Regions from separate parts of the Homo sapiens genome. Here region 2 is linked to region 1. Evidence: promoter capture Hi-C in human tissues and cell types (Jung and others, 2019). All regions are on one chromosome and are shown on one strand. The core of a region is centred on a gene start or on the middle of the fragment in contact, and the rest is flanking DNA. Distances in the headings are between cores, read along the strand shown.

Region 1 (3,802 bases), core at 1,118-3,617:
TGGGATTTCGAGTAAGATTTAATTTGGGACAAAGATTTCTACTGCTTAAAAAAATTTTGGTCCGGGTACGGTGGCTCATGCCTGTAATCCCAGCACTTTAGGAGGCCGAGGCAGGTGGATCACCTGAGGTCAGGAGTTCAAGACCAGCCTGGCCAACATGGTAAAACCCCGTCTCTACTAAAAATACAAAAAAATTAGCTGAATGTGGTGGTGGGCACCTGTAATCTCAGCTACTCTGGAGGCTTAGGCAGGAGAATCACTTGAACCCGAGAGGTGGAGGTTGCAGTGAGCCAAGATCACGCCTTTGCACTCCAGCCTGGGCAACAAGAGCAAGACTCTTTTTAAAAAAAACAAAACAAACAAACAAAAAAAAACTGAAACCTCTGCTAGACACCAGGCTGCCTCCCAATGGATCTAGAGTTACCAGGTGGCCTATGATGGTGTCTAGATCCAGACTCTAGAGACAGACTAAGTCAGTGTTCTCTCAAGGGAGATTTCCCAAATGGGTGGCAGTTATAAATGCACACATGAGCCTTCACTGCCCCAAAGGGCCACGCCAATTTCAGCTACCAAGAAAATGAACCATGTCATTACAAGTGCCTAATTTTCAAGAAGGAGAATAATAAGCCCTTAGCACCCTAATTTGGTTTTCCCATAGTGGTTTCTGCACAAAGTGGCATTCACACACAACATTCCAGGGACCAGCCGCCAGCAGCAAAGATGCGGAGACACGGCTCTGATTATCCAGCTGAGGCAGCCCCTCCCCTCCCTGCCACTCCTGGGACTCTTAATCTCCAGGCCTCGTTTTATTTTATTCTAGGTATTTATATTTCCATGAAGCATCTGCTTTGTTTACTGGTGTTTGCCCCATGAACATGGGCTTCCAAGGGACTAAAGCCCTATCAGTCCCTCTCACTGATGTGCTCCCACCCCAGTGTCCAGAACAGTGCCTGGTACACATAGGCCCTCAATAAACAGCTGTCCAGCAGATGCTGGACCCCCTGGAGGTGGGTCCTCCTCTCTTTTCTTAGCTCACACTCTCCTGCTTCTTCTTCAGCAATGAGCAGCTTCAGCTATCCTGAGCTCAGTCCCAGAGCTGAGGACCCTCCTTGCATCATGATCTCACCCCCACCTGATTTCAGATACAAAACGAGTATCTGTGGAACCCTACTATTCTGGCACATGGTTACATTGTAGACATTAATATTAAAACTTATTTATATGAAATGTTCTTATGTAAGGTTTCGTTAAAGTATATGAAATATAGGACACATTGATACTAATTCCTTGTTTTTCTTTTTCTTTCTTTCTTTTTTTTTTTTTTTTTTTTTTTTTGAGACAGAGTCTCACTCTGTTGCCCAGGCAAGGCTGGAGTGCGTTGGCAGGTCTCGGCTCACTGCAACCTCGGCTTCCCCAGTTCCAGCGATTCTCCTACCTCAGCCTCCCGAGTAGCTGGGATTACAGGCACGCACCACCATGCCTGGCTAATTTTTGTATTTTTAGTAGAGACGGGGTTTCACCATGTTGGCCAGGCTGGTCTGAAACACCCGACCTCAGGTGATCCGCCTGCCTCGGCCTCCCGAGTTCTGGGATTACAGGCGTGAGCTATCGCGCCCGGCCTCCTTGTTTTTCTTGAGTTTACATATAACTGAGGTTTCTTTTTTCTTTCTTTTTTTTGGGGGTGGGGGGACGGAGTCTCGCTCTGTCACCCACGCTGGAAAACTGGAGTGCAATGGAGCAATCTCGGCTCACTGCAACCTCCGCCTCCCCGGTTCCAGTGATTCTCCTGTCTCAGCCTCCTGAGAAACTGGGATTACAGGCATGCGCCACCACGCCCAGGTAATTTTTGTATTTTTAGTAGAGACGGGGGTTTCACCATATTGGTCAGGCTGGTCTCGAACTCATGACCTCGTGATCCGCCTGCCTTGGCCTCCCAAAGTGCTGGGATTACAGGCGTGTCACCGCGCCCGGCCGACGTCCTGTATTTTTATTTGCTAAGAGTGGCGATCCTAGTCTGGGACATACTTGTACTAAACATATTTATATTAAAAACAATGTTTTAACATACTACTCTTGGACACTGTATAAAACGGTTGCGTGTCTGGAATGCCGTCGTTTTGCCCCGCGGCCCCATCGTACATGCGCATCCCCGCAGCCGCCACCGTCTCCACTTTCCGCAGCAGCGTCCCTGACGCTGCGCGACCCGTTGCCAAGGCGACTGGAACCGCGGCCCGAGGTAACTGGAGGGCACGGCGGGGGCGGGGCGCTCATCCCAGGCGGCTTCTGATTGGCCTCGGCCGCCTCGTGCGTCACAGCCCCGCCCCTGCCCGGGAGTCCCGCAGCGGTGACTTGTCACCGACGCCCGGCGTGATCCAGCGGACCAATGGCGGCCGCCCGCGGCGCGCAGGGTGCGGGGATGGGGTCCGCCCGCGGCGTTGGGCGCGCTCGCCAGCCCAGGGGTCGCCATGACCGAGTGGCCCAGGCCCGAGCGAAGCCCGCGCGCGGTGAGTCCGCCGCGGCCCATCCGTCCCTCCGCCCGCCAGAGCGTCCATCGGGACGCCCACCCGGGAGGGTCTCGGCGCCGCGTCGGCGGGAGCTGGCCCGGGATCGCGGTCCAGGGGCGCGCGTCGGGGGAGGCGGGCCCGGGCCCGGGAGGGGGCGGGCCGGGCCGGGGTTCCAGAGCCCATCGGGAGTCCTGAGGTCGCCGTAGGGGAGGGAAGGGGAAGGCTAGAGGCCACGCGGGGCGGGGACTGGGGGGGCTGGGGCCGCCCCTTCCGCAGGGACCCCGACCCCTGTTGGCATCCGCCTGTCCGTTTGAGGCCGAAGCCCCTCTACGTACCCCCATTGCCCGCCCAAACACCGCTCGGCCGCGTCCAAGTTCTCCCTTCCACACCTGATCAGCATCCCGGGACCTATCTCCCTCCTGAACAGCCGCCCCCGGACCCATCTCCCTCCCTACCCGGCCCCTTGGGCCCATCCCCCACTGGAACAGCAGCCCCCGACCCGTCTCTCTCCCTACAAGCTCCCCCTCCCCGCCCCAGGCCCATCTCCCTCCTGAACAGCCGCCCCCGACCCATCCCCCACCCAATCACCCCACCATCCTCCCCCCAACCAGCCGTCCACAGCCGTCGTCGCTGCCCCTCCCCTGTATTCCCAGTGCGCTGCCCTTGCACACTTCCCCAGCTCGTTTATTATGGAACTCCTCCGTGTGGCATCCTAAGCTCCCAACGCCCTCCCCACTGTAAGCCCCCTTCTCAAAGCCAGAACCATTCACTGACTGGCGCAGTGAACACGTCTTCTATGTCACTAAGCATCCGGCATCAGCGGCAAAGCCCTTCTGCCCATCCCCGCAATAGAATTTGGGGCTCGGGCTGCAGATCTCAGTGCCCATGCCAGGTGAACCTGGCCCTTCCACAGGCACTGAGCCCTCCAAGTGACACTCTCTCACACACACACATCCCCAACATTAATCAGAGACCCCTACCAAAGTAGACTTCTAGGACCCCAGGGCCACCACAGCATTGCCCATGGGGGGGCCCAGATCCTCCTCACCAGCCATGTAGACCTCAGTCCCCTTCACATCATCCCAGGCCCTCTTCATCTTCCAGAAACAGCCACCCATCAGTCCAGGACTCTCATCAGCTCAGGTACCCCCACATTGGCCTAGGTGTTCCACATCAGCCCCCATATAGACCCCAGACACACCCATGGACCTCTGGTGCCTTCTGCTAAGACCTCCTCTTTACCCTCATCCCTGATAAACTTAGCATCTCCTCCCACAGACCTCAGCCCAGGACCCTGG
Region 2 (3,987 bases), core at 334-2,833, 110 kb before region 1:
CAGCCTCCCAAAGTGCTGGGATTACAGGCGTGAGCCACCGTGCCTGGCCACTTTCATGGGTTTCTATGAAAGTCTAAACTTACCACATGGTACAGTTTAAATATGTATAGTTTACAGAATGTCATTTATTCCTTATTATGGCTTTAAAGAATTGATTCAAAAGAAAAATGTGGGCTGGACATGATGGCTGAGGCCTGTAATCCCAGCACTTTGGGAGGCTGAGGGAAAAGGATTGCTTGAGGAGTTCGAGGCTGCAGTGAACTATGATCTCGCCACTGTACTCCAGCCTGGGTCACAGAGCAACACCTTGTCTTAGAAAAAAAAAAAAAGAAAAACATGGATTTTCTATTATTTTTGACAAACATGCTTGACAACTATACAAAATCTCCTCATGTCCTAAGTGCAGCAATGAGTCTCTGCGGCAGCAAATACTGATAAGCCAGGAAGGCCATTTTCACCTGATTAAATTGGAACACTGGTTGGTCACAAAGACCACATCACTGGACTAAGAGATCTCCCTTCTCCCTATCCTCTTCCTCCTGCCAATGCAGGAATTGCCTTGAGGTGAACAGCCGAGAAAGGGTACAGGAATCCACGAATCCTTTATATTATTTCCTTTGACAATGGCCTCAGCTACACAAGATTCATAATTATGGAGGTTCTGAGAATTTCTGTACCTGACAGTCCACCACATACATAGTAACTGAATCAATGTGGATGACGTGCATTCCAACTCTGTTCTTGCAGTGTCCTCCACTGCCTATAAATGCAGAAATTCTATAAATTATGACTTCCTGTTATAATCTCATAACCTGGGACACCACACTACGAAACTCTGGATATCAGAGCACATGGCTGCATTCCAGGACCTAGGGAACAGATTTCCCTCAGCAGTACTGAGCAGAATGCAATATCCCTTGTAAAAGAGAGGAAATTTTCGTGTCGATCTCAGAAGCATCAGAGGATGTCACAAACACTGTTCCCTTCTCAGGTTTATCTATAAACCCAGAAATTATTGGAGTATCTAGTCAACAAATAAGGACCACAAAGTTCTGGAGTCTTTGGAGGCCTTGGGCAGCCATGAAAACTATGCCACAAGTGAAGAGACAGTATATTCTGTCATCATACTGTCCCCTCTGAGGCACACAAAGTCTAGTGATCCCAACAAAAGCTGTCTGCCCCTTTATGACACCAGAACCCAGTTGTTTCCAAACCACCCGAAAGAGTAAATACAACTCTCAAGACTGAAGGAAGCTTAAACAATAAGGCCTTATTCATTGCACAAATCAGAGCAATGGGAAGCAGAATGTTCTTTGGTTGGAACTTAAGAGCCTAAAGAATCACATGAGACCCGCTGGGTGCGGTGGCTCACGCCTGTAATCCCAGCATTTTGGGAGGCCAAGGAGGGCAGATCATGAGGTCAGGAGATCGAGACCATCCTGGCTAACACGGAGAAACCCCATTTCTACTAAAAATACAAAAAAATTAGCTGGGCATGGTGGTGGGCACCTGTAGTCCCAGCTACTCGGGAGGCTGAGGCAGGAGAATGGCGTGAACCCGGGAGGCGGAGCTTGCAGTGAGCTGAGATCACGCCACTGTACTCCAGCCTGGGCGACAGAGCGAGACTCTGTCTCAAAAAAAAAAAAAAAATATCACATGAGACCCATAAGGTCCCTGAAAAAGGTAGTCCATCTTTTCAAGCTGACAGAAGACCCCTCTGGACCAGTACTGAGACAGATCCATGGTCTCGCTCATCCGAAAGAAATGAGAAAGGAATGACAGCTGAGACTACTCACCAATTCCTCTGGCCAACGAAAGACAACCAAGGTTTACTTCCAGAACATCATGGGGTGAATGAATGATGCACAGTGAACACCTGCCTCGTGGCCGACATAAAATGGCTTTTGCCAGATAACCGACATCATGTCTGGCAAGGGAACCCGGCAGGGTGAAAAATGCCACACAGCTCCAACATAATTGAGTTTATGCAGATGCTGAAGGTATGTCAATTTAGGCAGATGGCTCCGTCATAAGGCATCTCCTCCAGTGTTATGTTTTACAAGAAATAATATTTCCTGTACGTGTACAGTGTTTTCCTTATGAGAACAATCTGTTATCCAATGACAGAAGGCAGAAGGCTTTCTCACATTCATCGCACTCAAGAGGCCCTTCTGCAGTGGGAGCTCTTCTGTATGTAATAAAACAAGACTTCTGCATAAAGAATATCCCACGTTTGTCACACTCATAAGGTCCTGATCCAGTAAGAACCCTCTGATCAAGAAGATGCACAGAGGTTTAGCTAAAGAATTTCCCAAATTTCTTTTCACTTGTAAGGACTTCTTTCTGTGTGAACTCTCTGATGTCGAAGGAGAGAAGAGCTTCGATGAAATGATTTTCCACATTCACTGCACTCATAAGGCCTTTCTCCAGTGTGTACTCTCCTGTGTTCAGTAAGACTGAAGGTTTCAGCAAAGGATTTCCCACATTCGCTGCACTCGTAAGGCTTTCCTCGAGTATGAAGTCTCTGATGTTTAAAATGCGCAGACCTTCGAGTAAATGTTTTTCCACATTCCCTGCATTCATAAGGCCTTTCTCCAGTGTGAACTCTCCTGTGTTCAAGGAGACTGGAGAAGAATTTCCCACATTCTCTGCACTCATAAGGTCTTTCTGCAGTGTGAGTTTTCTGATGTCGAAGGAGGGAAGAGCTCTGATGAAATGACTTTCCACATTCTCCACATTCATAAGGCCTTTCTCCAGTATGAACTCTCCGATGTCGAAGGAGGGAACAGCTTTGAGGAAATGACTTCCCACATTCACTACACTCAAACGGTTTTTCTCCAGTGTGAACTCTCTGATGAACACGAAACCCAGAGCTGTCTTGAAATGATTTCCCACATTCATTACATTCATATGGCCTTTCTCCAGTGTGAACTCTCTGGTGTTCAATGAGGTGGGACTTGCCCCTAAATAATTTCCTACACTCTCTACACTCATAAGGCCTTTCTCCAGTGTGGCTTCGCTGATGCTGAATGAGGTTGCCCTTTCGACTAAAAGATTTCCCACATTCTCCACACTCGTAAGGTCTTTCTCCAGTGTGACCTCGCTGATGGTTCCTAAGGTGTCCCTTTCGACTAAAAGATTTCCCACATTCTCCACACTCATAAGGTCGTTCTCTAGTGTGAACTCGATGATGTTCAGTTAGGGTGCCCTTTTGACTAAAACATTTTCCACATTCTTCACACTCATAAGGTCTTTCACTAGTGTGACCTCGTTGATGTTGAATGAGATTGCCCTTCTGAGTAAAACATTTCCCACATTCTTCACACTCATAAGGTCTTTCTCCAGTGTGAACTCGTTGATGTTTAATGAGAGTACCATTTTGACTAAAAGATTTCCCACATTCTCCACACTCATAAGGTCTTTCTCCAGTATGAACTCGCTGATGCTGAACAAGGCTGCCCTTATGACTAAAAGATTTCCCACATTCTCCACATTCATAAGGTCTTTTCCCAGTGTGAACTCGCTGATGCTGAACAAGGCTGCCCTTATGACTAAAAGATTTCCCACATTCTCCACATTCATAAGGTCTTTTCCCAGTGTGAACTCTCTGATGATTACTGACGCTATCATATTTGCTAAAGGATTTCCCACATTCCCAGCAATAACATTCCTCTCTAGAGGGAAGTCTCTGCTGTTGAACAAATACGTGTTTGGTGCTAGAATGTTTCATGCATTCTCCACAGCTGTAATGAGTATCTCCCCACTGAAAGGGAGACTCACACTCAGGTTTGCTGTTTGACTTCTCCCCAGTGTGAGTGGCCTCCTGCAGCAGTAATCCTGAGCTGGGCAAAAAGTCCTTTCCACTCTGAATGAAGATAGATGACTCCTCTGACACATGGAACTTACACCTCTTCACAAACAATGCTTCCTCAACACTGCTTCTATAGGGTTTCTCTCCAAGGTACTGATTCTGGTGCGGACGGTTTG

The links. Contacts are between HindIII fragments. The study calls those that stand out against the background at their distance.
Region 2: a fragment that was not itself captured here is called in contact with the fragment with the promoter of ZSCAN1 in region 1 in 2 of the 25 tissues and cell types used here (neural progenitor cells and spleen).

What each region holds. Positions count from the first base shown.
Region 1 is chr19:58,031,658-58,035,459 of GRCh38, forward strand. ZSCAN1 (zinc finger and SCAN domain containing 1) reads left to right here and starts at 2,368. Exons shown (of 6, transcript NM_182572.4): 1 at 2,368-2,504. The HindIII fragment of the contact is 19,074 bases long and covers 1-3,802 here.
Region 2 is chr19:57,923,827-57,927,813 of GRCh38, forward strand. ZNF418 (zinc finger protein 418) reads right to left here. Exons shown (of 6, transcript NM_133460.3): 4 at 1,797-3,987. The coding sequence ends at 2,324. Among named protein-coding and RNA genes, the nearest start is that of ZNF417, 9.2 kb to the left of the region's middle. The HindIII fragment of the contact is 9,147 bases long and covers 1-3,987 here.